Linked DNA regions of Homo sapiens: all the other regions are linked to region 2. Evidence: promoter capture Hi-C in 16 types of primary human blood cells and fetal thymus (Javierre and others, 2016). All regions are on one chromosome and are shown on one strand. The core of a region is centred on a gene start or on the middle of the fragment in contact, and the rest is flanking DNA. Distances in the headings are between cores, read along the strand shown.

What was found. The method cuts DNA at HindIII sites, captures the fragments that hold promoters and counts their contacts. A CHiCAGO score of 5 or more calls a contact.
Region 1: a fragment that was not itself captured here is called in contact with the fragment with the promoter of OR52M1 in region 2 in 1 of 17 cell types (M0 macrophages); the score reaches 6.0 in M0 macrophages.
Region 3: a contact is called between a fragment that was not itself captured here and the fragment with the promoter of OR52M1 in region 2, in 14 of 17 cell types (M0 macrophages, M2 macrophages, monocytes and 11 more). The highest score is 15.3, in M0 macrophages.
Region 4: a fragment that was not itself captured here is called in contact with the fragment with the promoter of OR52M1 in region 2 in 3 of 17 cell types (M0 macrophages, M2 macrophages and M1 macrophages); the score reaches 6.9 in M0 macrophages.
Region 5: a contact is called between a fragment that was not itself captured here and the fragment with the promoter of OR52M1 in region 2, in 7 of 17 cell types (M1 macrophages, M2 macrophages, monocytes and 4 more). The highest score is 11.1, in M1 macrophages.

Annotation. Positions count from the first base shown.
Region 1 is chr11:4,159,561-4,164,946 of GRCh38, forward strand. No RefSeq gene overlaps it. Among named protein-coding and RNA genes, the nearest start is that of LINC02749, 25 kb to the right of the region's middle. The HindIII fragment of the contact is 4,071 bases long and covers 1-3,558 here.
Region 2 is chr11:4,542,997-4,548,410 of GRCh38, forward strand. OR52M1 (olfactory receptor family 52 subfamily M member 1) reads left to right here and starts at 2,195. Exons shown (of 1, transcript NM_001004137.1): 1 at 2,195-3,148. The coding sequence starts at 2,195. The coding sequence ends at 3,148. The HindIII fragment of the contact is 8,356 bases long and covers 1,733-5,414 here.
Region 3 is chr11:4,198,157-4,203,791 of GRCh38, forward strand. LINC02749 (long intergenic non-protein coding RNA 2749) reads left to right here. Exons shown (of 2, transcript NR_047550.1): 2 at 4,103-4,497. Among named protein-coding and RNA genes, the nearest start is that of LINC02749, 14 kb to the left of the region's middle. The HindIII fragment of the contact is 821 bases long and covers 1,946-2,766 here.
Region 4 is chr11:4,216,312-4,222,431 of GRCh38, forward strand. No RefSeq gene overlaps it. Among named protein-coding and RNA genes, the nearest start is that of SSU72L5, 14 kb to the right of the region's middle. The HindIII fragment of the contact is 1,514 bases long and covers 1,159-2,672 here.
Region 5 is chr11:4,140,330-4,146,481 of GRCh38, forward strand. It overlaps the pseudogene OR55B1P. Among named protein-coding and RNA genes, the nearest start is that of LINC02749, 44 kb to the right of the region's middle. The HindIII fragment of the contact is 2,205 bases long and covers 3,344-5,548 here.

The sequences.
Region 1 (5,386 bases), core at 273-2,772, 380 kb before region 2:
GTATATACCCAAAGGACTATAAATCATGCTGCTATAAAGACACATGCACACGTATGTTTATTGTGGCACTATTCACAATAGCAAAGACTTGGAACCAACCCAAATGTCCAATAATGATAGACTGGATGAAGAAAATGTGGCACATATACACCATGGAATACTATGCAGCCATAAAAAATGATGAGTTCATCTCCTTTGTAGGGACATGGATGAAATTGGAAATCATCATTCTCAGTAAACTATCGCAAGGACAAAAAACCAAACACCACATGTTCTCACTCGTAGAAGGGAATTGAACAATGAGAACACATGGACACAGGAAGGGGGCCATCACACTCTGGGGACTGTTGTGGGGTGGGGGGAGGGGGGAGGGATAGCATTAGGAGATATACCTAATGCTAAATGACGAGTTAATGGGTGCAGCACACCAGCATGGCACATGTATACATATGTAACTAACCTGCACATTGTGCACATGTACCCTAAAACTTAAAGTTTAATAATAATAAAAAAAGAAAAATAAAAAAAATCAAAGAAAATCTAAAAAAAAAACAAAAAAAACCCCAAAAAACAAAAAAACAAACAAAATACATCTCTTATTGGCCTTTAAAAGGTGTCAGGCTCTCTGGAAAATACCTAGTAAAGGGAAGAGATGACTCTCTACAGAACGGAGATTTCCCCACTAAGAGACAGCTTTGCAAGGTCACTTCAAAATACGTCAAAGGAAATATATTTTGGGGTAAAATACTTTGATTTCCTTCAGGGCCTACCATCTGTCAAGTGATGCTATACCAGAGTCTGGAGTTGGATCTACAAAGAGTAGAGTCTATTTGCTACAAAGAGTCTATTTTTTCAGTCTTATGATCTCTATTTTAATGTGAATGCTGGTCAGTTGTACCTAAACTCTAAAGGGAGAAGGGTATAACCAGGCATGTCTGATCCCCACTTCTCATCATGGCCTGAACTAGCTTTTCAGGTTTCTTTGGGATCCCCTTGGTCAAGAGAGGGCTCCATTCAGTGAGTTGGGGGCTTAGATTTTTATTTTTGGGTTTACACATTGCACATACATCATATTTTCTTTATCTGTTCATTTATTCATGGACATTTAGGTTCTTTCCACCTCTTGCTATTGTGAATAATGCTGCAATAAACATGAGAGTGCAGATATCTCTCTAATATCTTGATTTCAATTCTTTTGGGTAAATACCCAGATGTAGGACTGTTGGATGATATGGTAGCTCTATATTAAATTTGAGGCTTCGTAACTTTTAATGTTTCCTGCTGTGCCATGTATTTTTCCTTTGTCCCTCCAGATCTACTTGCTATCTTTTCCATTCTGCTGTCTGCCTGTTTCAGGAAGACTGCATCAGCACATTACCTTGCCTGCTGGCTTTCAGTGGCTTCAGCCAAATTTCACTCCCCACTAGAGTAGGAGGTTGGGAGAACACTGAGGTCAGGGAGTTGGTTCCCCTGGCTCCCTCTCTGCCAGGTCACAGATTCCTTGCTGAAGACCACATCCCTGGTTGGGTGACGTTTTTCTATCACTACTTTTTGGGTTTCTGTGTCTACTCTCTCCATTTGACCCTCAGATCATGGGGTGGTCCTGGCTCTTTGCTGTGCAAATTCAAGGGTGCTGCCCTGTCCCTCATTGGCTTACTTAATCCCATCTGTGTTTATAAATAGTCCCTCATTATACTCTCCCCAATTATCCTCTTTGAGTGTCCCGTCTCTGTCCTTCTGGGCCCTGACAATCAGAGATGGTGGACATATCCTAAACCCAATGAATGGTTATACCTTTTCTGGCTCAAGTCGCTATTTTCTGTCCATCCTTGGTGCTTGGTGACACTTCTCCAATCCTTGAAGCAGAGGTCTTCTCTGATCTTATCATAGTGGTCTTTACTTATCAGCAAACATCAGAGGTAAACAATCAGCCTCATGGGAAGAGGGAGGTTGTTTCTTCCCAGGGTAGCCTGTGGCCTCTGCTGTTTCAGTTGTGGTAGTTCTTGAAGCCTGTTATCTGAAGTCACCAGCATTTACTTTAAATAAAACACAAACTCTCTAGCTTAGCTCCAAGGCCTTTCAAAATGTGATGCCAGACCATCTCTTCAATACTTGTGTCTTTCTCTACATCTGTTCTACTGTGTTTTACCCAAACTTATCTATTATTCATGTAGCAGGCAGAATAATGACCCACTTCCCCTAAAGATGCCCATGTTCTACTTCCCTGGGAATATGAAGAAAGCGGAGGTCAGAGTCATGTGCTTGCTGGCACTGAAGATGAAGAAAGATGGGGGAAGAGGACACCAGACAAGGAATCTGGGCAGCCTCTGGAAGCAGCTAAAGGCAAGGAAACAGGTTCTCCCCTAAGTCCTCCAGAAAGGAATGCAAATCCTGCCGACACCTTGGTTTTAGCCCAGTGAAACTTACTTTGGACTTTTGACCTTCAGAACTGTATGATAATAAATTTGTGTTGTTTTAAGCTACCAAGCTGGTAATAATTTGTTACAGTAACAACAGGAAACTAATATATTCCCTAAATGCTCATCCCATTCTCAATATAAGCCAGTGGTTCTCAATCTTGGTTTACATTAGAATCACCTAGGAAGCCTTAAAAAAATACCAGGACCTGGACCCTGTCTCCAAAGATTCTGATTTCCTTAATGTCTGAACATTAGTGTTTTTAAAAAAGCTACCCAGGAAACTCTAATATAATTGGAAACCATTGATCTAGACCTTTACTCAATGCTGTCTCCTCTACAGGAAATGATTTTCTTTCTAGCTTGAAGATTTCAACTTGGGATGCCCAGTAGAAACTCTAGAGGAGTTTTTAAACAGCACCATTGTACTGCCAGGACTCCATTCCTAGAAAGTCTGGTTAAATTGGTCTGAAGTGGGGCCAATAATTGATTATTTTTTTAACTCTTATTTTAGTTTCAGGGTTACATGTGCAGGTTTGTTATATAGGTAAATTGTGTGTCATGGGGGTTTGGCATACAGAGTATTTTGTCACCCAGGGAATAAGCATAGTACTCGATAGGTAGTTTTTCAGTTCTCGTTCTCCTCCCACCCTCCACCCTCAAGTAGGACCTGCTGTCTACTGTTGCCATCTTTGTGTACAGGAGTACCTGATGTTTAGCTCCTACTTATAAGTGATTACATGTGGTATTTAGTTTTCTGTTCCTGTGTTACTTTGGTTAGGATAATGGTCTGTAGCTGCATCCATGTTTCTGGAAAGGACATTATTTCATTCTTTTTTTATGGCTGCATAGTATTCCATGGTATATATGTACCACATTTTCTTTATCTAGTATAATGTTGACGGGCATCTAGGTTGATTCTATGTCTTTACTATTGTGAATAGTGCTGCAATGAACATATGTATGTATGTGTCTTTATGGTAGAACAAATTTTTATTCCTTTGGGTATATACCCAATAATGGGGTTGCTGTACTAAATGGTAGTTATAAGTTCTTTGAGAAATCTCCAAACTGCTTTCCACAGTGGCTGAACTAATTTACATTCCCACCAGCAGTGTATAAGTGTTCCCTTTTCTGCAGAAGCTTGCCAGCATCTGTTATTTTTTAAATTTTATTTTATTATTTTTTGAGACAAGGTCTTGGTCTGTCACCCAGGCTAGATTGCAGCCTCAATCTCCTGGGCTCAATAGAGCCTCCCACCTCAGCCTCCTGAGGTGCTGGGACTACAGGTGCACACCACACTCCCTGGTAATTTTTGTATTTTTTGTAGAGAGGAGGTTTTGCCATGTTGCCCAGGCTGGTCTCAAACTCCTGGGCTCAAGCAATCCACCCACTTTGGCCTCCCAAAGTGCTGGGATTATAGGTGTGAGCCACTGTGCCTGGCCTCTTTTGGAACTATCGTTATGAAGTTTTGGAATAGCAGTTATGCTAGTTTCATAATGAATTCACTCAATTTCCTAATTAAATATCATGTTCTAGGATAGTTTTTTATAGCACAGGAATTTTTCATCTTTTGAAAGTTTGGGAAGAACTTACTCATAAAACCTGGGTCCAGGTGTCTTTCAGGTAATAATTATTTATTAATGCTTTTTGATTTCTTTCTTGGTAATTAATCTACTCAGGTTTTTAATCTTTTCTTAAGTAAATTTGAAAAATTATATCCTTCTGGAGATTTGTCTATTTCATAAAGAATTATAAATTTATCAGCATAGACTCCTACAGGGTGATTTGCATTTCAACCAGGCAATTAAATACCTTAACCCAAATAATAAATCTGTAATGCTGGTAATATTTTGAGTCATGCTCCACCTAGCTCATCTCAAATCACTCTGTGGTGTAAAAGGCATTTCTTTACAGTATGTATGAAAATACCATATACACACTCACTAAAATACTCAAGAGACACACACTCCATAAACACACCATCTTCTGGAGAAGTGGTTCTACCACAGACTGAATCCCATAACAAAAATATTGCTTCTGTCCTCACTGCTCAGACCCCACTCTTGCTAGTCATTTGCCTCACTGACTTATCAAAAACTCAGATGATGAAGGGTTAGGATCTCAGAAACATAGGCCATCAGAGGAAGAAGATTTTATTTTTGTCTGCACACAAGGAATTTAAGGAAGAGAGGAACTGCAAATCTGCTGGTAGCTGAAGGTGGTGGTAGCCACGATCCCTACATGCTCAGCACTAGGGCAGATGGGCTCCTCTTCCCATCCTTTTTGGGGCCTCTAGGACAATGTAGAACATCCAGAATCACGAATTCACAGGAACCAAGAACAGCAACATATTCACAGCCATATACAGCAGAGGTCTGTAGAGGTCACCTTGCTCGGCTCCTGCCTGGATATGAGCTCCCTCAACTTGCATGTCTCTAGAGATGAGTTGCTCACTACTGTGTGTTGAGGCCGTCAGTTTTGTGAGTGGGTGGCTTTACCCAGATGTCTTTCCTTACTGAGGGCTGAATCTCTCTTCGTGTGGTGTCATCTCCTTGGTTCTAGGTCTGTCCCCAAGAGCTTCTTGGGGTTGTTTTAATAGGAAGGAGCAGAGGAGAATTAACATATTTTTGAGGGCCTACCATTTCTTGGCCCTGTGAAGTACTTTCACCGCTACAATTTCCCCCTCATTCAGCAGCCCCAACCCCTCTATTATTAGACAGGCATTAGAACTGAGCATCAGGCACATGAGGTCATCTTTTACCCTTCCATTTATTTGTTCATTCACCATCGTTTTTGACATTTGTTATGTACCAGGCAGTCTGCCAGGCACTGAGGCTTAATGGGCTCACTAGATGTGGTTTCTGTGCCCAAGTTACTTAGAGTCCAATGGAGAAGAACCAGAGTGCTGTGGGAGCCCAGAGGAGGTCTCTAATTCAGCCTCCAGAGACAAGCCAGTCTTTTAAGAG
Region 2 (5,414 bases), core at 945-3,444:
GACATACAAGTAAAATAGAAAAGTCTCCCTTTATTGTAAATCTAAATATCAGAGGAAAGATTATCTAGCCCCCGATTGTCATGAGTTTATAGCTCTTTTGCCTTTAGGATTAGTTCTGTGACTTGTCAACTTTCAGATTCTGTGTCCTACTGAGGAAGCAATCTTCTTGTCAAGAGATAATACTGGGTAAAGATTATATACTGTTGGGATCTGGTCTGATATATTCATGAAATAACAAGTGGCATAGTCAAAGGGGCAGTTGAAGGGACTATCTGCAGAGGCTTGACAAGAGTTAAGGAACTTGACAAGGGATGGGGAGGCACTGGGACTAACAGTAAGCAGCACAACTTAGCCTAGAACTGACCGGGCAAAGCAGGGCATGGTTACCAGAAAACACAAAGGGTCACTTCAGGAGCTGGGGCCTTTGGTAGAAGACCAAGACACTGCCAAACATAGCTGGTAGGAAGGGAACTAGAGAGTAGGTCTCTAATCTCTGGTTTTACCCTCATATCTCCTGTTAGTGCCTCACATTGACTGAGCCCACCTGGAAAATAGAGGACAAGGGAATCTGGGTGATACAGCCCATGAGTAAAATATAGCATCTGAGACATAGAACAGGGATCTATGCAAATGGAGAGTGCAAGTGAAGAACAACCAGAATATAGGTTAAGGAAGCCAAGCCACCTCCTTCCAACTAAATCCATCACTCCATTCTACCTGATGACTTCACAGGCCACTTCCTGTGTACTCCTTTCCTTCCCAGCCCCAATGACTCAGCCTTTTTATTTTCCCTATTTTGCAGTTATTGCCAACATTATGTCTACTTGTCATAATCTTTGAGAATCTGAAGGTGAGCCCAGCTTATGGAGAGGTTTTATGGGATAATGTCAGACTTACAGCAGTCACCCTCCCAAGCACCACAGCTTCCTGGAGATAGACATTCCAGAGTCTTTTGAAGTTTGAACATTTTTGGCTTTGCATGTTAGTCTCAACAGAATAAAGAACTAATGCTTAGTGTTACTGTCAGGCCCTGCATTTTCATTTAGTCATGACAACTTCTCTAGGCCATGGCTTTAAGTTTGTTGCAAAGTGTAGTTAGTTGTATTTCACTAATGGGATAAAGCAGTTCACCTAAGCTCTCACTGCCAAGATCTGAAGACAGATCTAGAAAAGTCCTAAGCCCAGATTGCTGACTATTCTGTAATCAACCTAACTAGGCTTAAGATGTACTGCATTAAACTTCTTACACGCTCCTCACCTTTCGTATTCCTCTGATATATAAGGAACACATTCTGGTATAGTCTTTTAGACAAAGATTTAAAAAAAAAAAATCAGACAACACATTGTTTTCATGTATTTGCTTTAAATTGACATCTTTTTAGTGAGTTGCTCTGGACTTCAAGTAAGGGTGTTTCATGGCCAAACATTTGTCTTAGGCTTCATGCTACTCTGCACTGAATGTCTTCTTCCTCCCTGCTGATAACCCTCTGTTTCTGGAGCCTTTTCTTCATATTCAGTCTTCATGAAGGGAGGAGGCCCTTGCCAGGCTTTGCCTTTGGGTATCAAATACGCATAAACTGAGCTTTGGTCAGCTTTCATCTTTCAGAAATCACTTTGTTTCTATACCCTCTGGAAGGTGTCATCTTTACCACCCCAAGTCTCTGCCTTGTGATTTTGGCCTGCAAATTAGACATTTCAGCTCATCCAGTAGTCAATTCTGGTCCCAGGCTTAAGCTTTGGTTTACCATAGAGCCTAGATAGTCCCAGGTGTCTCTGACCCTCTGACACTTCAGTGCATCTCCTTTTCTTTCAAGTAGCTGTACACTCTAAAACCTTCCAACATGATCTCAAGCACCACCTCATAGCCTACCTGCAGTGGTAAATGACCAGATAGTTATTTGCTTTAGGTCAGTTCATTCACTGATGCAAGAATATCACTCCTCGAAGGTCATACTGCAAAAAGATGTATTTCATTCAAATGAGTGTTTTGGCTTGTACTTTCTAAGATTTTGCGAACATTTTAGTATAATGTGACACTGACGTTCTAGAATTTCTTCTAAAGATGACTTATCTAACATCTAGTCAGTGACCCTATTATTATAGGAACTTAGAGTAAAATATTGTCTTTTATTTCCAGGAAAAACATCCTGCTGCGTTTAGTGGTACAAGTGAGAAGGTTCACATATAAATAGCCATGCTCACTTTTCATAATGTCTGCTCAGTACCCAGCTCCTTCTGGCTCACTGGCATCCCAGGGCTGGAGTCCCTACACGTCTGGCTCTCCATCCCCTTTGGCTCCATGTACCTGGTGGCTGTGGTGGGGAATGTGACCATCCTGGCTGTGGTAAAGATAGAACGCAGCCTGCACCAGCCCATGTACTTTTTCTTGTGCATGTTGGCTGCCATTGACCTGGTTCTGTCTACTTCCACTATACCCAAACTTCTGGGAATCTTCTGGTTCGGTGCTTGTGACATTGGCCTGGACGCCTGCTTGGGCCAAATGTTCCTTATCCACTGCTTTGCCACTGTTGAGTCAGGCATCTTCCTTGCCATGGCTTTTGATCGCTACGTGGCCATCTGCAACCCACTACGTCATAGCATGGTGCTCACTTATACAGTGGTGGGTCGTTTGGGGCTTGTTTCTCTCCTCCGGGGTGTTCTCTACATTGGACCTCTGCCTCTGATGATCCGCCTGCGGCTGCCCCTTTATAAAACCCATGTTATCTCCCACTCCTACTGTGAGCACATGGCTGTAGTTGCCTTGACATGTGGCGACAGCAGGGTCAATAATGTCTATGGGCTGAGCATCGGCTTTCTGGTGTTGATCCTGGACTCAGTGGCTATTGCTGCATCCTATGTGATGATTTTCAGGGCCGTGATGGGGTTAGCCACTCCTGAGGCTAGGCTTAAAACCCTGGGGACATGCGCTTCTCACCTCTGTGCCATCCTGATCTTTTATGTTCCCATTGCTGTTTCTTCCCTGATTCACCGATTTGGTCAGTGTGTGCCTCCTCCAGTCCACACTCTGCTGGCCAACTTCTATCTCCTCATTCCTCCAATCCTCAATCCCATTGTCTATGCTGTTCGCACCAAGCAGATCCGAGAGAGCCTTCTCCAAATACCAAGGATAGAAATGAAGATTAGATGATTACTATTTTCTTCTCTCTCAAATAAGCTCATGGAGAAGGTGTTTAAATATGGTAGGCTGCTTCCCATTAGGAACTTTACAAGCAGTTTGAAGTATTAGGCACTGTGCTCTCCAACTTTTGTAGTTCCAAAGGAATTCTAAGAAAGTATACAACTCTAAGTCCTAAAAGGTGGAAAATACAAAACTTACAACTAAAGGATATTTGAGCTACAAAGAAGGTAAACCAACCGTGATAACGACAAGCTGCTAATATTTAGCATTGTTCATGTAATTCTTGAAAATATCCTGACATGAGGTATTATTGTTTATATTTTATGAGGAAATAGGACAGAACACCCTTGCTTTATGAACTACATACAGTTACTTAAGCTGCCTAGCTCCACATTTGGTTGGAATTTGTAATACATTGTAAAGTTATGTATTAATACTTTCTATTCTTTGTTTTCTGTATATCCTTTAAAAGGTAAATTTAAAAAACTAAGTCATTTAATTGAAGTTTCCTTAGCTGCAAGGTGACACCTTCCTGAGTTAAGCCTCTCTTAATTGAGATGCTGTTCAAACTGCCTGTAAAAATGTGTTCTAGAAGACTCACTTGTATGTGCCCAGAAGATTTGGGGATACTTATGAAAGAGAATGTGGCCTGAAAAAAAATTGTCAGGTCAATGAAGGAAAATGAGACAAGGTTACCATGTCTCAATATTGCCTTTGTTGTATTCTCTGCAGGCTTGATGCATATGAGGACTCTGTGGAAATAAGTCTTCCCTTTCCCACAGAAACACTCCCCAAACCCTAATCCCATCTGTAGGATTCCTGCCGATAGTGTGCTACATCCTTAAAATGAATCAGCAACAAGTTGCAAGTTATATAGTTTATAGAGACACTGACTTTGTCCTCCAGATTAAATATTAACTATGTTCTAGTCATTGAGCTAACATGGATAAAGCATTTAGTTACTATTGACAGGATTACTGACATAGTCCTCCCAACCACACTAAGGTAAGAATTACTCTATTTTGCAAATGAAGAAATTGAGGTTCCCAGAAGTGATAGAATTGCCCAAGGTCACTCAGAGAGCAATAGTGAAACCAGGAATTCAGCCAAGTTTGTTTTTAAAGCTCAAAGGCTTCCAAGCCTCTCTGTTCCACATTTTCCTTAACTGAGGAAGGGTGCTGAAAGGCCTTTCCTGGAGGTCTGAGTTGTCATGCACTTAGACATTAGCTACACCCATTATTTCTAAAGTCAGAAGTATACAGATCAAAAAGCAGTTTCTTTCAGTGCTGTTTCCAGAGGAAGGACAAAACGTAAATCTAGGTCTGCTCACTAATTCTACAACTCCATAAAGTCAAGAAAATGTTGAATACACTAGGCTTTAGGTAGAAACCAAACTGACCAAAGGAGTAGTCAAGTGCAAAGGAAAGAGCACTGCATGAAACCAGAGAAACTTTTCTAGTTTCTCTTTGGCTAGTCCAGAGAATGGAATGGAAACCACTCCGCTAATGGGACATCTGGAATGTGTGATCATTTAGGGATCCAATTACATGCATCTCTAACTTCCATCCTATCACACCGTAATGAGTAGCTTTCCCTAAACTTTCATCCGAGTTTAGAGGAATTGAGTATTCTTCCTATGAATGGAAAAGCAATCATAAGATAAGTCTTCTGCTTTACCTATCCCACCATGGTTGGGAACCAGAGGAAGATTTTTGGAATCAGTGCAAAGTTGTGCTCACCAGCTCTCTATGGAGCAGGGGTGAAAGGGCAAATCACAATGACCCAGAATTATCTCTAGTGTGATTTTAAAATGTCATCTAATAAGGTTAACCTCAGGAGAGGTACAGAAACCTTGCTGAAAGTATACTAGAAGAAATTAGATATGAGTTGGGACCCAACTTATGGAATTTCTTGGAATTCAGCCTATCATGTGAATGAATCTTGTCTTCGTTTTCCTAAAGTTGTGCAGTCTGTGTCAGATTATAGAATAGCATGTTCATATAATTCTAGCTTTCATTTATTGTAATATTGAAGTTGTGAAATCTAAATGTAGCCAAGGGACATTAAGTTGGCCACCTAAGCATAAAAAGGTGAAACAACTTATGAAACATACAAGAAGCCATGAAATTATTGTGGCAACCTTTAAGTGTACCTTCCAGATCTTCTACAGTGAATGCAGTTGACTGACAGCATTAACTGCTGCCATCTACTATCCCCATGCTCCTACCGAGGCCACATTTCCCAGAAACTGTTCCCAGTGATCCAGCATAATAGG
Region 3 (5,635 bases), core at 1,106-3,605, 340 kb before region 2:
GGCCTCCCAATGTGCTGGGATTACAGGCGTGAGCCACAGCACCCGGCCAGGACTTTTCTTTTTTCTTTTTTTTTTTGAATAAAATAATTTTATTTTTGTATAATAAAATAATTTTATTTTTGTATAATAAAATAATTTTATTTTTATATAATACAATTTATCAGTCTTTTATTGTTTTGGATGAGTTCACTTCCATTAAATCCAGGGAAGTGAAATTATATATGTGACCTTAATATGAGTTTTAATAATCTACTTTTCAATTTTTCAGTATTTTAAATATTTCTTTAATGTTCTGGAAAAAATAGCCACTAGCAAATACAGAAATACGTGTACACAGGGGCACACATTTTTCCTTTTGTCTCTGTCTCCAGTACGTCTCAGGGCAGCACTGAGCAGAGGCCTATGGGCCATCTCAGTCTTTCATTAGAGCCAGTAGCCAAAACATATCTGTCCAAGAGCTATGACAACAGCAGCAAAGCTTGTGGAAGCCTCAGCCAACTTAGTCCTAGAGTTTCCACCAAACTGAATGGTTCCCCATAGTGAACACTGTTTTACTGAGAGAAAACAGTCAGCGCTTCTTGGTTATCCACCTCCCTAAGAGTTATAATAGCGATAGAAAAATATGAGAAAACTTCAACTTCAGTAGATTTAGTTCTGACGCCTCCGCTAAACTTAGTGGTTCCCCATGCTCTGCGGACGCTTATATTCACAGAATATCCTCACCACTTTTTGCTAGTTGCCTACCCTCTGTGACATATCGTTGCCTCCCCCTTCGCATATCACTGTCCAGTGTGGCAATACTCTACACACAGCCACCTCCTTCTTTTAAAGGAGGTGGCTTTACCTCTGTTAAGGGACTATCATGCTCTTTCAGATCTTTTTTTAAATTTTTATTTTTTAACCTTTTAAAAATTTCAATAGTTTTTGGGGAACAGGTGATTTTTGGTTACATGGATAAGTTCTTCAGTGATAATTACTGAGATGCAGCCATCACCTGAGCAGTGTACATTGTACCCAATGTGTAGTCTTTTATCCCTCGTCCCCCTCCCAACTTCCCCCTTGTCTCCACCGTCCCTTTTATCATTCTTACACTTTTGCGTCCTTGTAGCTTAGCTCTCACTTATAAATGAGAACTACAATATTTGGTTTTCCATTCCTGAATTTCTTCACTTAGAATAATGGTCTCCAATTCCATACAAGTTGCTGCAAATGCCATTATTTTGTTCCTTTTAATGGTTGAGTAGTATTTCACTATATATATATATATATATCTCACATATATATCACATATATATGTGTATATAAATGTGATATATATATGTATACACACACTACATTTTTAAAATCCACTTTTTGGTTGATGGGCATTTAGGCTGGCCCCATATTTTTGCAATTGCAAATTGTTTTGCTATAAACATATGTGCAAGTGTCTTTTTCATATAATGAACTCTTTTCCTCTGGGTAGATACTCAATAGTGGGATTGCTGGATCAAATGGTAGTTGTACTGTTAGTTCTTTGAGGAATCTCCATACTGTTTTCCATACTGGTTGTACTAGTTTACATTCCCACCAGCAGTGTAGAAGTGTTCCCTGTTCACTGTATCCACACTAACATCTACGGTTTTTTTGATTTTTTTATTATGGCCATTCTTGCAGGAGTAAGGGGGTATCTCATTGTGGTTTTAATTTGCAGTTCCCTGATGATTAGTGATGTTGAGCAGTTTTCATATGTTTGTTGGCCATTTGTACATCTTCTTTTGAGAATTGTCTATTCATGTCCTTTGCCCACTTTTTGATGGGATTATTTTTTTTTTCTTGCTGATTTGTTTGAATTCCTTGTCGATTCTGGATATTAGTCCTTTGTATGATGCATAGTTTGCAAATACTTTCTCCCGTCCTGTGGGTTGTCTGTTTACTCTGCTGATTATTTCTTTTGCTGTGCAGAAGCTTTTTAGTTTAATTAGGTCCCATCTATTTTTGTTTTTATTGCACTTGCTTTTGGGTTCTTGTTCATGAACTCTTTGCCTAAGCCAATGTCTAGAAGAGTTTTACTGATGTTATCTTTTATAATTTTTATAGTTCCAAGTCTTAGATTTAAGTCTCTGATCCATCTTGAGTTGATTTTTGTATAAGGTGAGAGATGAGGATCCAGTTTCTTTCTTCTAGATGGTGTCCTTTTCCCACTTTATGTTTTTGTTTACTTTGTCAAGGATCAGTTGGCTTTAAGTATTTGAGTTTATTTCTGCGTTCTCTATTCTGTTCCATTGGTCTACATGCCAATTTTTATACCAGTGCCATGCTGTTTTGGTAACTATAGCTTTATAGTAGAATTTGAAGTTGGGTAATATGCCTGCAGATTTATTCTTTTTGCTTAGTCTTGCTTTGGCTATGTGGTGTCTTTTTTTGTTCCATATTAATTTTAGGATTATTTTTTCTAGTTCTGTGAAGAATGATGATGGTACTTTGATGGGAATTGCATTGAATCTGTAGATCCCTTTTGGCAGTATGGTCATTTTCACTATATTGATTCCACCCACCCATGATCTTGGGATGTGTTTCCATTTGTTTGTGTTGTCAATGATTTCTTTCAGCAGTGTTTTGTAGTTTTCCTTTTAGAGATTTTTCACCTCCTTGGTTAGGTATATTCCCAAGTATTTTATTTTTTGGACACCCCTCATTTAATTGTTTGTAGATGGTTCATACCTAAAAAGAAAAACTACAAGTTGCCAATTATGTTATACTATCACAGACTTGAATTTACCTTTAAGCTTCTCAAAGAAATGAAATCTGTTCAGATGGCTAAATTGCCTTTGTCCAGACATGCCAGCCAACAAAAGATAAAAAACAAATACTTGTCCTGATGGTGGGTATGATTTTGGGTTGGCCCATGATTTTGAAATGCTTTAAAAAAAAAGGACATTTTCTGACTGTTACAGGAATCCTTATAAAATGGATAGCAAATTAAGGAACCCTGAGAAGTTTTCCATTACCTAAAGAAATGGCCATGATAAATGTAGAATTTAGCAAAAGTGCTTCATGATATTACCCATAATACAAGAGATAAATCTGCCATGATTTTTATTTTATTTTTTATTTTTTGACTTTTATTTTAAGTTCAGGGGTATATGTATAGGTTTGCTACATAGGTCAACTCATGCCACAGGGGTTGTTGTACAGATTATTTTGTCACCCAGGTATTAAGCCTGGTATCCATTAGTTATTTTGTCTTATCCTCACCCTCCTCCCACCCTGCACTTTCTGGCGGGCCTCAGTGTCTGTTGTTCCCCTCTCTGTGTCCATGTGTTCTTATAATTTAGCTCCCATTTACAAGTGAGAACATGTGGTATTTGGTTTTCTGTTCCTGTGTTAGTTTGCTAAGGATAATGGCCTCCAGCTCCATCCGTGTTCCTGCAAAGGACATGACCTTGTTCTTTTTTATTTGTCATGATATTGAACCAACATTGATGGGGGTAATTTTAGGAGGTTTCATAGACATTTCCAAAATATGTCCAACCTGACAATGACACAATCCTGGCAAGATTTTAAGGATAGGTCATGGACAGGAACCGAAGTCTCACTGCCCCTTTGAACGTCTCCAAATGTGCTGAGTGCATTCTGATTATTGTTGTTTATTCTTAGGGTTAGTTGATGTTTTACCTTACTGGAGAGTGGTAGCTATAGTGGTAGGAACAAATTTGCTTAATTTTGTTGTATTTCTGACTTGGAAAATCCCAACTTATTTTGCAGTTAAGAGGAACACACATATCACTGGTACTGTTGTTACTGAACCCTGCAATGCTTTACTTTTTACTCAGAATCTCTACTGACCTTTATCATCCACAAAATTCAGGGAAAAGATAGAACTAAAATTCTAAAAGTATAATTATCAGAGCTCTCAAAACCCTCACACTCCTAAGGCTTGAGGAGTGCTATTGGTGTTGATGGAAGTAAGACCAATTTTCAGGACCTACAGGTGGCCACCTTTGGAATTCATAACAGGCTTCCTCACTACTTGCAATCCTAGATTCTACATTATGAGTACAAGCTGATATGATTCATTGCTGAAGGGTACTCACAATAACTCCAGCTTTATCACCAACAGGTAAACGCTGCATTTCTACAACAGCCACCTGTGCAGGCCCTGCATGCTCTGTAACCTGGGGATTTGGTCTTCTGAAAAGGGCACCAGAGAAAAACTGCTCTTAAGCCTCTGTTAACTGACACAGCAGTAGAACTCCAAGGTGTTGATCCTTGGATTCATGTTTCTCAACTTCAGAGACACACATCACTCCTTCCTGACCACTGGGCATCCATCCCACCAGGAGCTCCTAATCTGAGAGCTGTTAGAAATCCTCCAAAAGTGCTGACTGCAGAAGTTGGTAGCTTCTGCTCAAGATGACAGAACAAGATTAACTTTTGTATTCTTCAGCACCTTTTTTATTTTCCATTATCACACTTTGATACCCTCTAAAACATTAAAACACCTTCTAGAATGCTTATGTGATCAACTTGATCTTTGTCTTATTAATTTTGACCTCTGTCATCTCCTTCTACCACTTAAGAAAAAACCAAAACTCCCTTGTGCATCTTTTTCAAACCACAGCTACTGCCCTGAATTTAACTAATTACTGACAAAATCTAGTAAGTATCACTTCAGACACTTCAGAAGGAAGTACAGGCCCTTTCTAGTACTTAAGTTTGCCTTACACCACAAATCCCAACCTTCAGTCCTGTAAAAACTGGAGCTTGATGTCACATCAATGGAATGCTTCTGACAATGTCATCACAATCCTTTCAGCACAACCTGGGTGTCATGAGTGAGCACTGACATAGGACTATCCTTGCTACAGCTACCACTCTGTTCTCTTCAGAGACACTCTGGCTTGCTTCTCAAAAACTGTTTAACTCTACTCAAGAACAGCCCACAAAAAATCCTGACCCATAGCTGTTGTGCTAAAATGAACTTTCTGTTTCCATACAATCTGTGCCCCACTAAGATGCTACCAAAGCAGACATCAGGCTTACACTGCCTGCTGTAATATAGGAAGTAGATGTTTCCACATCAATAAATATTCCTTTCATACGCTGCTAATGTATTCATGCAGCCCATTAGATAGATGTACTAAAACGAAGTTAGCCAGTTTTAAATATAATTTTGTATTTATGTGCTCTTTTAATTTATTCATATTAAAACAGACATGATCATTATCTTTTAATATACATTTTACAACTTGTATGGTTATTTTTTGAGAATAAGCTGACAGATTTGGATTGATGGGTAAAATGTAAGCATATACGTTAAAGGGTTTAAAAAAATCTGTAATGCTAAACTATTATCCAGTGAGGTTTTATTGGTCTATAATCCCAACAACAGCCTACCCATTGTCAGCTTGCTCACACCCATGCCAGCACTGGAATTAGCTAGCCTTTTCATCTTCGCTGGAGCGGGAGGTGATCCAGTAGAAAAAAATGGCACCATTTTTTCCCTAGTTAGAAATTCTTGGGTTACTGGTAAAGGTGAACTTTCCTTCTGTTGTTCGGCTGGACTCTAGACAGGAGCTGGTGTGAGGCAATTTAAAATGCTGCTTTCCAGAGAGGCCTGGAGAGACTGTTCTCTGTGCTGTAGAGGGAGCTG
Region 4 (6,120 bases), core at 666-3,165, 330 kb before region 2:
ACTTGGACTCATCAACACCTATATTCTCCACAGAGGCAGTGAGACCTACTGGCTAAGGGCTCAGGACATTTTTTTGATATGGAGTCTCACTCTGTCACCCAGGCTGGAGTGCAGTGGCCCGATCTCGGCTCACTGCAACCTCTGCCTCCTGGGTTCAAGCAATTCTCCCACCTCAGCTTCCCAAGTAGCTAGGATTACAGGCGTGCACCACCACTCCCAGCTAAGTTTTGTATTTTTAGTAGAGACGGGGTTTCACCATGTTGGCCAGGCTGGTCTCTAACTCCTGACCTCAGGTGATACACCCACCTTGGCCTCCCAAAGTGCTGGGATTACAGGTGTGAGCCACCGCGCCCGGCCAGGCTCAGGACTTTTAAATCAGACAGATTGGGTTCTGAGTGGTAATGACCTTAGGCAATATCTTCATTTCTTAGTCCGTTAGTGGGTAATTCCACGTATTTCCTGGTGTTGCTCCTAAAGGAGACAAAATACCTGAAGTCTTATTACACATACTAGCTAAGAGTGCCAACTCAGTAAACTAATTATTACTTTATTCTTGGCTACTGAATAAAGTGTTCCTGTTTTTCAAGATCACCCGCTACTCCCCTTCAAACCGTTTCATCCCATCTAGGGCCTTGCTACATAAAATATCCTTCATAATTTATATCATCTAAGTCTCCTCAAGATGAAAAACACACTAAATACGTCCTGTCTTCAAAACAACCAGCACAACATTCTACATGTGTCAGGCCCTGCCTCAAGTCCAAATCTCATCTACCCTCCCCCGACAAGCCTATTTTCTGAAGGAGCATTATCTCTACTTGTTCTGTAGCCCAGGGCTATCTCACTTATATCTGAGCACTAGAAAGAAACTGTTCTGGTAAACAAAACTCCTAATTCTTCACATGCTGGAACTCTCTACTGAATTCAAGTTTTGATCAATCTCTGCTTCTTGAAGAAAACTTTTTGGATCCTTTGCTTCAGTGAAACCAACATTTGAGTTCTCTTGTTTATGGGAGAGTCCCTCTTCATTACTTACCCTAAATTTAGAGTCTATTAGGCAAATATTCTGACTTTTAATTCTCTTTCTACATGTTCTCCTGCTGACTCAAATCTGATTTTGAAATGAGGTGGGTTATAAACATATAAGGAGTAGATGCAAGCTTTTTCTCCCACTCATCTGATGGCTTCATCGTGCACCTGTAGGTACCGATGCCACTGAAATCTAAACTTCTATCCAAGGCTTCTTCTCCAAGCCTCAGAGTTGAATATATAAACAGCATTAGGAAACTTTTCTTTTGTATATCTCAAGTTGAATTTGGCAAAAGTAGAACTTCCTACTTTGCCTCAATTATCTATTTTGGTTAGTTGCAAGACTTAAGGTGCAATCACCCTATTTAGAAACCAGGGAATCATCATGGACCTGGACCTTCCTTCATCCAATTGATCATGAAGTTTTAACAAGATTATTTCCTAAATGTTTCTGAGACCTATTCTCTTTTCCATCACTAGGTCATGGTAGACTCTAACTTCTAGTTCAAGTCCAAGGAACCCCTCTCATCACTCCATTTGCAGAGGAAAAACAATTCAAATATGAGCTGTCCAAGGATGCACAGCAATCGGCTTGTAGTTATAGGGGTAGGGCTTATTGAAAGAGGCTAAGCAAAAATACACTGAGAATAAATGCTGTTTTTTTTTTCCTTTGTCCACTTTTGTATGGGGTAATCATTTCTTTCTTTTTAGAATGGTAAGCTCTAGAGGATAAATATTTGGATGAAGGCCATAGGAAAAGGGGCCACAGAGGCCTGTTTAATAGAGACTTCAGGTCTGAGATACAAATGAGTCCTCCCAGCTCACAGTTGGTAGCTCAGTTCATGACATTACCTAGAGTTTGCACCAACATTCAGCTAGTATTAAAAACTTTGCTCACAACTATTGCAAGGACAGAAAACCAAACACCACATGTTCTCACTCATAGGTGGGAATTGAACAATGAGAACACTTGGACACAGGGTGGGGAACATCACACACCGGGGCCTGTCTTGGGGTGGGGAGATGGGGGAGGGATAGCATTAGGAGAAATACCTAATGTAAATGATGAGTTAATGGGTGCAGCAAACAAACACGGCACAGGTATACATATGTAACAAACCTGCACGTTGTGCGCATGTGCCCTGGAACTTAATGTAAGAAAAAAAAATAATTCTGCTCAGGAGGAACATCTCTGTGTATCTTCTTGCTGAGCCTGTGGTGGTAATAGGTAACAGGCAGCTACTTGAGCTCCTGGAGTTCTTAGATGCGGGCATCTCTTTTTCAGAAGATGCAACCAATATTTTCTAACAGGACCTGGAGAATCATTTTATTTTAAAATCCCTCATAGTTCCAATGTTTAGATCACCTGTGGTTCTGTCGCTATTTTTTTCCACATTTTTTTTTAGTTATTTGGTAGTTTCTTGGCATGCTTGGTGTGTGAGTGTGAATGGATAGTGATTTTATATGAAAAAATTAGAGACTGTTCTCTGAAACTGTTACGTTTCTCTAGAAAGAATTCAGGCAGATAAGTGTACTGGCAGATCTTGATCCATCTAAGAGGACGCTTAACTTTTGCTAGTGCTAGCGTTGATCTTTTTCTGGGTTGTCCTTACTCCTAGAGTACAGCCCTTCTAGTGTTTCAAAGCTTCCTAGTGTTTCAGTGTTTATTTACAAGGGTTGCTCTACCTCCTCAGGCCCTGACCTCCAGCCTCTGACTCCCCAGCACCATCAGACTGCTAGTCTTTGCATAACTGTTTAGCTTCACAGCTGCTGCTTTCAATTCAGGTGCTGAGAATCTTGCCCTGAACATGCACAGCTTAGGAATTGGCAAACTCCTCAAGGGGAATCGGGACGCTGAACTTTGGCCCAGTTTTCTCTAAGGCTGCCTCTTCTATCTCAGGTCTCAGACTCCATGGTATCCCTGAACTGCAACTTCTTTATTCCTAGCCTGCTGGGTTTCACTCGCGTCCATGTGAAGAGACCACCAAACAGGCTTTGCGTGAGCAGCAAGGCTGTTTATTTCACCTGGGTGCAGGCGGGCTGAGTCCGAAAGAGAGTCAGCGAAGGGAGATAGGGGTGGGGCTGTTTTGTAAGATTTGGGTAGGTAAAGGAAAAAGGGGGTTGTTCTCTGGTGGGCAGGAGTGGGGGGTCACAAGACTCTCAGTGGGGGAGTTTTTGAGCCAGGATGAAGCAGGAGAAGGAATTTCACAAAGTAATGTCATCAGTTAAGGTGAGGACCAGCCATTTTCACTTCTGTTATGGTGGAATGTCATCAGTTAAGGCAGGAACAGGCCATTTAAATATCACTTCTTTTGTGATTCTTCAGTTGCTTCAGGCCATCTGGATGTATACATGCAGGTCACAGGGGATATGATGGCTTAGCCTGGGCTCGGAGGCCTGACATTCCTGTCTTCTTATATTAATAAGAAAAATAAAACATAATAGTGTTGAAGTGTTTGAGCAGTGAAAATTTTGGGGGGTGGTATGGATAGATAATGGGCGATGTTTCTCAGGGCTGCTTTGATTAGGGGCAGCGTGGGAACCTCGAGTGGGAGAGATGAAGCTGAAGGAAGATTTTGTGGTAAGGGGTGATATTGTGGGGTTGTTAGAAGAAACATTTGTCGTATAGAATTATTGGTGATGGCCTGGATATGGCTTTGTATGAATTGAAAAAAGAGCAGAATAAGACAAGGAGAACAACAGGTATTAAAGGACTAAGAATTGGGAGGACCCAGGACATTTAACTAGAGAGTGCCTAAGGAGGTTCAGCATAGCCCTGCCAGCAAAGATTATTTACTTTAGGAGGGAGTTAAGAGTGGCAGTTTGGGGATAGCACCATGAGATATCAGCTGTGATGGCTTGGAGAGACAGTGTAAACCGGCAGTGTAAACAAGAGCAGGGCATTTATGAGTAGTTGAGAATGGTGAATAGGAGTATGACTAGACAGAAGATAGTAGGGATGACAAGTTTTTTTTTTTTTTTTTTTCGGAGGGGGTCGCAGTCCAAGTTGGTCTGGTGTCTGGAATGAGACTGGGGCCTAATAAAAAGGAGCGTCTATAGAGGAGTTCAAATGGGCTGTACCCTGTAGCATTCCGAGGACAGGCCTGAATTCTGAGAAGGGCAAGTGGTAAAAGTATTGCCCATTCCTTTTTAAGTTGGTGACTGAGCTTGGTGAGGTGAGTTTTTAAAAGACCATTAGTTCACTGAATACTAAGAGCCTGAGAAACTGCTTGGGTGATTTGACTAACAAAGGCCGGTCCGTTATCGGACTGTATAGAGGTGGGAAGCCCAAACTGAGGAATTATGTCTGACAGAAGGGAAGAAATGACTGTGGTGGCCTTCTTAGACCCTGTGAGAAAGGCCTCTACCTATCCAGTGAAAGTATCTACCTAGACCAAGAGGTATTTGAGTTTCCTGACTCGGGGCATGTTGAGTAAAGCCAATTTGCCAGTCCTGGGCGGGGGCAAATCCCCGAGCTTGATGTGTAGGGAAGGGAGGGGGCCTGAATGATCCCTGAGGAGTAGTAGAATAGCAGATGGAACCCTGAGAAGTGATTTCCTTGATGATAGATTTCCACGATGGAAAGGAAATGAGAGGTTCTAAGAGGCGGGCTGGTGGCTTGTTGTATAGCATAGCTTGCCTTTGCTGGTGTGTGGCGATTAGGCCTGGTGGAACTGCCATCAATAAATCAAGCGTGATCAGGGTGAGGAACAGGAAAGAAGGAAATATGGGGAAATGGGGTGAATGTCAGGTGGATCAGAGAGATACAGTCATGAAGGTCAGGTGTGGTATCCGGAATAATGCGGGAGGCCGGATTGAAGTCTGGGCCAGGAACAACGGTAATTGTGGGAGACTCAACAAAGAGTGAGTATAGCTGAAGGAGCCGGGAAGCAGAAAGTATATGCATCAGGTGTGAGGAAGAAAATAGGTTTTGGAAGTTTTAAGAACTATAGAGAGTGAGTTGAGCATAGTTTGTGATTTTGAGGGCCTCTAAAATTATTAAAGCAGTGGCAGCCACTGCACGCAGACATGAGGGCTAGGCAAAACAGTAAGGTCAAGTTGTTTGGACAGAAAGGCTACAGGGTGCGGTCCTGGCTCTTGTGTAAGAATTCTGACTGCACTAACCATGCCCAGGAAGGAAAGGAGTTGTTGTTTTGTAGAAGGGATTGAGGTTTGGGAGATTAGTTGGACATGATCAGCAGGGAGAGCACGTGTGTTTTTATGAGAATTATGCCGAGATAGGTAACAGATGAGGATGAAATTTGGGCTTGACTGAAGCAATGGGAGCTGTCTGTGAAGGCTTGTGGCAGTACAGCCTAGGTAATTTGCTGAGCCTGATTGGTGTCAGGGTAAGTCTAAGTGATGAAGGGTGCAAAGGGATAGTAAAGAAAGCATGTTTGAGATCAGACAGAATAATGGGTTGTGGAGGGAGGTATTGAGGTTAGGAGAGTATATGGGTTTGGCACCATGGGGTGGAGAGGCAAAACAATTTGGTTGATAAGGCACAGATCCTGAACTAACCTGTAAGAAAGACTTGTCTGGTTCTAGGACAGGTGAAATGGGGGAACTTTAAGGGGAGTTTATAGGCTTTAAAAGTCCATGCTGTAGCAGGTGAGTGATAACAGGCTTTAATCCTTTTAAAGCGTGCTGTGGGATAGAATATTGGCATTGAGGGGGGTAAGGGTGATTAGGTTTTAATAGGATGGTAATGGTCATGTGATCGGTTGCCAGGAAGGGAGTAGAGATGTCTTATACTTGTGGGTTAAGGTGGGGGGATACGAGAGGAAGATGCAAAGGAGGCTTTGGGTTGGGAAGAAGGGCGGCAATGAGATGTAGCCCAGGAATAGACAGGGAAGCAGATAATTTAATTAAAATGTCTCGGCCTAATAAGGGAGCTGGGCAGGTGGGGATAGTGAAAAAGGAGTGCTTAAAAGACTATTGTCTAAGTTGGCACCAGAGTTGGGGAGTTTTAAGAGGTTTAGAGGCCTGGCCGTCAATACCTGCAACAGTTATGGAGGCAAGGGAGACAGGCTCTTGAAAAGAAGGTAATGTGGAGTGGGTAGCCTCCTTATTGATTAAGAAGGGGATGGA
Region 5 (6,152 bases), core at 3,196-5,695, 400 kb before region 2:
TTGACGGTGTTCCATAGGTCTGTTAGGCGTTGTTTACTTTTCTTTATTTTTTCTTTCTATTCCAAGACTTGATAATTTCAGTGTCCTATCTTCCAGTTTTCTGATTCTCTCTTCTTCCTGCTCAAATCTATTGTTGTGCTCCTCTAGTGAATTTTTCATTTCAGTTATTCTTTTCAACTCCAGAATTTTTATTCTTCTTTGTAATTTTTGTCTCTGTTGATATTCTGATTTTGTTAATCATTGTTTTTCTGATTTCCTTTACTTATTTGTTCATCTTTTCCTTTAGCTCTTTGAGTATATTTAATACAGTTGTTTTAATGTCTTTGTTGAGTAAATCCAATGTCTTGGCTTTCTCAGGGATGGTGTCTATCATTTTTTCTTGATACTTTGAATGGGCCATGTTTTCTTTCTTTCCTTTTTTTTTTTTTTTTGTATGCCTTGTAATTTTTGTTGTTGAAAAATGGGCATTTGACTGTTATAATGAGGTAACTCCAGTAATCAGATTCTCCTACTCCAGAGCTTACTGTTTTTTGTTTCATTGCTATGTTGAAGACTGTAGTACTCCATTTGAGACATTTCCAAACTTTTTTTTTTTTTAAGACAGTGTCTCGCTGTGTCACCCCAGGCCAGAATGCAGTGGTGTGATCTTGGCTCACCGCATGCTCTGCCTCTGGATTCAGGCAATTCTCATGCCTTAGCCCCCTGAGTAGCTGAGATTACAGGTGTGTGCCACCATGCCTGGCTATATTTTGTGGTGTTAGTAGAAATGTGGTTTTGCCATGTTGGCCAGGCTGGTGTTGAACTCCTGGCCTCAACTGATCCACCCACCTCAGCCCCCCAAAGTGCTGGCATTACAAGTGTGAACCACCACGTCCAGCCCAAACTAATTTTTCAGACTATTCTTTGTCACGTATGATTGCCAAAGTCTTTGTTCCTTTAGTGCATGTTCAGTTATTGTTTTGACAGAGATATATGATACCTTCAAACTTTTTGTCACACTAATAAGATTGGCTGGTTGCTTTTAATTGCACTGGACAAATTGGAGAAAGAAAAGGATGACTTTAGTGATTTGAATTCTCAACTTAAGTACTAGACCTGAACATTTCTGTTTCTGCTTTGAAAGAAACTTTACGTTCTGTAGCTGCAGAGTTGAGATTTCTGAAACCAAACCCAGAATCTCATTTTGCAAGTGCCTGAGTTACAATGCAAATTGAATTCTGAGCCTTGCAGTGTGCCTTTGCTATTAAAGTGAGGATATTGACTAGGAATGAATGGGATCCTGAAAATTGGAATGGTGACATATGGGAAGATCCTGTTGAAGCTGGTAATATTGAATCTCTAAATTCTGATGAGTCTTCATTGCCAGTAGAAGCAGAGTTAACTGATTTACCCAAACTGATTATACCTAATTGACATTAACTGCTTTCCCTGAGGAAACTGATGTCTTCCTCTGAGATAATTGCCTTGCAGGACACTGCTGATTGTCCTCAGGACCCACCCTGACCACCCCTCTTTGGTTCTAAACCTATAACTAGATTCAAGTCCCAGCAGGCCCCAAAGGTGAGGTACAAAGTGAGATCTATGAGGAGGTGTGCTACACTCAAAAAGAACTACATGATTCTTCCCATTTGAGAATATGTGTGGAAATGGATATTAAGGATATGTGATAATGGTGGAAGGAACATAAAGTTGGATCAGGCTCAGTTTATTGATAGGGGCCCACAAAGCAGAGGTTTTGGATTTAATATTGCAGCATGGGGGATCGAAAAGTGCCTGCTCTAGCTGGTTGGTTGGTTGGTTGAAACATGGACCAAAATTTGCCCTAAGTGAAGTTGAAATGCCAGTCCTGCCTTGGTATACTATAGAGGAAGTAGTTCAAAGGCTTAGGGAGATCGAAATGTTAGAGTGGATTTATCATTTAAAAGACCAGCTCTCCCACCCTGAGGGAAGTCTGGAGGACACTTCACCATGACTGTGAGAAGTAAATTTGTGAGGGAAGCCTCAGCATCCTTAAAGACCTCTGTGATTGCTCTTTTCTGTAGGTCTGAAATTACACTGCCACTGAATTGGGAAACCTAAATTCAGTGGGAGTAATTGGATCCCATAGTGCCAGGTAGAGACACTTAATTGCCAAAGGCAGGGTGGGAATAGTTACTATAATGGACAGCAGAGTTAAAGCAGCAATCAGAATCGTCTGACTTGGCCAGATGCAGTGGCTCACACCTGTAATCCCAGCACTTTGGGAGGCCGAGGCAGGCAGATCACTTGAGGTCAGGAGTTTGAAATCAGCCTGGCCAACATGGTGAAAGCCTGTCTCTACCAAAAATACAAAAATTAACCTGGTGTTGTGGCGTGCATCTGTAATCCCAGCTACTTGGGAGGCTGAGGCAGGAGAATTGCTTGAACCCAGGCGGCAGAGGCTGCAGTGAGCTGAGATTGTGCCACTGCACTCTAGCCTAGGTGACAGAGCGAGACTCTGTCTCAAAAAAAAAAAAAAGTCTGACTCACAGAGATACGGTTTGGCTAGATGATCATGGAGTTCCTCGAGGTGAAATACATGGGGAATCTATTAAATTCTAACTTGATCTATATAAGCAGAAGAGTTTCCGGTTAAGTGAACAAGTCTAATTTGAATAATAAAACCAGAATTATGGCCCCTCAATCAATTCCCAGATTTGAACTAGTTTACAGACCCAGAACCCCTCAAATGAAAGGGAGACCAAGTCCCCTTGAGGAAGGATCCCACTGCACTATCAAAGATATATACTGTTAAATCTTTCTCCCAGCCTTTCCCAGAAGGATCTATGGCCTTTTACTAGTAACTACATTGGGAAAAAGAGATAATCAAACCTTTTGAGGATTACTGGACACAGACTCTAAACTGACACTAGTTCCAGGAAACTAAAACGTCACTGTGATCTTCCAGCTGGAGTAGGAGCTTATGGAGGTCAGGTAATCAATGGAGTTTTACCTCCAGTCTGTCTCACAGTGGCTCCAGGGATCCCTGAAACCATCCTGTGGTTATTTCACTATGCAGTTCGGGAATGCGTAATTGGAATAGATACACTCAGCAACTGACACAGAGAACCAACCATATTGGTTCTCTGACTTGAGTGAGGGCTATTATAGTGGGAAAGTTCAAGTGGAAGCCACTAGAACTGCCTCTACCTAGGAAAATGATAAACCAAAATCAATATTGCATTCCTGGAAGGATGCCAGAAATTAGTGCCACCATCAAGGTCTTAAAGTATGCAGAAATAATTTCCACCCCATCCCCATTCAACTCACCTGTTTGGCCTTTGCAGAAAATACGAATTTTGGAGAAAGACAATGGATTATCATAAGCTTAACTGGGTGATTACTCCAACCAGAGGCAGTTCTATTGCTTGAGCAAGTTAACACATATCCTCATACCTGGTATGCAGCTATTGATCTGGCAAATGCTTTTTTCTCCATACCCCTTAGTAAGGACCACCAGAAACAAGTTTGTTTTCAGCCGGCAAGGCCAGCAATACACCTTCACCATCCTGCCTCATGAGTATATAAACTCTCCAACCATATATCATAGTTTAGTTTACAGGATTTTGATCAGCTTTCTGTTCCACAAGATACCACTCTGGTCCAATACGTTGGTGACATTATATCGATTGGACCTATGAGCAAGAAGTAGTGACTTCTCTAGACTCATTGGTAGAATACTGGCATGTCAGAAGGTGGGAAATCTCACTAAAATTCAGGGCCACCTTCTACACAGGACAATTTCTAGGCATCTAGTGTGAGGCATGTCGAGATACCCTTTCTAAGGTTAAGGATAAATTGTTGCATCTGACGACTCCTACAAGCAAGAAAGAGGCATGATACTTAGTGTACCTCTTTGAGTCTTGGAGGTAAAAAATCATGGTAACCATTTCCAGCTTGGTTATGGCAACTGAGTGCCTCCACGTGCCACTCTGAAATCTAATTACTCCCATTGAATTTAGGTTTCATTTGGAGCAGCACACTGGGGCATGCTACTCCATCCTGTTTACCAAAAGCTGCTAGTTCTGGGGCCCAGAACTACACAAGGCACTGCCACAGGTCCAGGCTGCCAGGGAAGTTTCTCTGCTACTTGGGCCATCTGATCCATCAGATCCAGTGGTGCTTGAAGTGGCAGTGGCAGATAGAGATGCTCATTGGAGGCTTTGGCAGACCCCTGTAAGTGAATCACAGGACAGGCCCTTAGGATTTTGGACCGAAGCCCTGCCATCATCCCCTGTGGGTAACTACTCTCCTTTTGAGAAATAGCTTTTGGTTTGCCTTAGTAGAGACTGAACACTTAACCATGGGCCACCAAATTACCATGTGACTTGAGTTGGCTGTTGTCCGACTCAACTTGCCATAAAATTGAGCATGCACAGTAGCAGTCCATCATCAAATGGAAGTGATATATACAAAATCAGGCTCAAGCAAACCCTGAAGGCACAAGTGACCATGAAGAAGTGACCCAAAATCCCGAGGTCTCCAGTTCTGCTACACTGCCTTTTCTTCCCCAGCCTGCACCTATGGCCTCATGGGGAGTTCCCTATGATCAACTGACAGGAAGAAAAAACTCAGGCTTGTTTAGTAGATAATTCTGTGCAGTGTGCAGGCACCGCACCCCCTTTCTGGGACATTACCTGAACACTTTTCCCTTCTGTAGATGATAAGGAGCTGTGGACGTTTTTTTTGTTTTGTTTGTTTTTGTTTTTGTTTTTGTTTTAATTTTGAGACAGAGTTTCACTCTGTTGCCCAGGCTGGAGTGCAGTGGCTCGATCTTGGCTCACTGCAGCCTCTGCCTCCTGGGTTCAAGCGATTCTCCTGCCTCAACCTTCCAAGTAGCTGGGACTACAGGCGCACGCCACCACACCGGGTTAATTTTTGTATTTTTGGTAGAGACGGGCTTTCGCCATGTTGGCCAGGCTGGTCTCAAACTCCTAGCCTCAAGTGATCTGCCTGCCTCGGCCTCCCAAAGTGCTGGGATTACAGGTGTGAGCCACTGCCCAGCCAGAGCTGTGGAAGTCTTTTAAGCAGGGGTTAGCTTTTAGGTAGATCACATTGGCTGTCATAGGAAGAATGGCCTGACTATGGGTTTGGTTCCGACTTTGATCTGGATCCCAGATCAGGGCTTAGTCTGGTTTTTGGGTCAGACTTGGGCTCCAGTGCAGGACCCTGTCTGTGTGCCTGAGGTCAGCACGGTGGCCTCAAAATGTGACCTGTGTGTTTGGCTGAGTTTGGGTTTCCCAGGGTAGGGTCTACTGTGGTCTTTGGGTCAGACTGGGACCCCGAAGAAGACCTGGTCTGGGTGTGTGTCAGACTGGGGACCCTTGGGCAGGAGCTGACCTGTTTGTGTGGGCTAGACTGGACATCGCAGGGTAAACCTGACCTATGTGCCTGTACAGCTTGGGGATCTCAGGAAAGGACCTCACTTGTGTTTGGGACTGACTGGACTCTAGAACCCAGCCTGCTACCTGGATTAGACTGGAAGCCTCAAGGATGACCTGTGTATTAGGTCTGAATAAACTTCATGTCAAGCTTAGGCTATGTTTGGGAGAGACTGGGCTTCAGGGAAGTGCCCGCCTGTTTATTTGTTTCAGACTGGGTGTTGTTCAGACAGGGCAGGTTGTGGTCTGTATGACTTGCTCTATAAGACTACCTTAGTGAAGCCCCATACATCCAGATATTAGTTGGGACTTCCTCAGGAGTTGGGAGGAGGACAGAGAAAATAAACCAAGAAGGATAAATAGGTAAATGCAATTTTATTACTGGGGGTGAAAACAAAGAGCATTCTAAGAATTTAACAAGCAACAGTTGACCAACAGGGAACCTGCTGTTGAGCCCGTAATCTGCTGAGGAAATTTGAGCCTGTCCCTGAGTACTGCCTGCTTATCTCTTCTCAGAGATCATAGCCCCAACTTTCGAAGGTAGTAAAGTCCCTCACCCTGGCGGTTTCCAGTCTCATGTTCTGCAGCCTCTTTGGCTTCTCCCCAGCCTTCTGGGCTGTTTCCTTTTCACAGAGCATCTTTTCTACATGTTGCTGGATCTCCCTAGTCCTCACCCCATAAATGACAGGATTCAAGGCTCCTGGAAGCAGCAAGTATATGGCACTGAGTAGATTCTGGACATTCTGGGACACA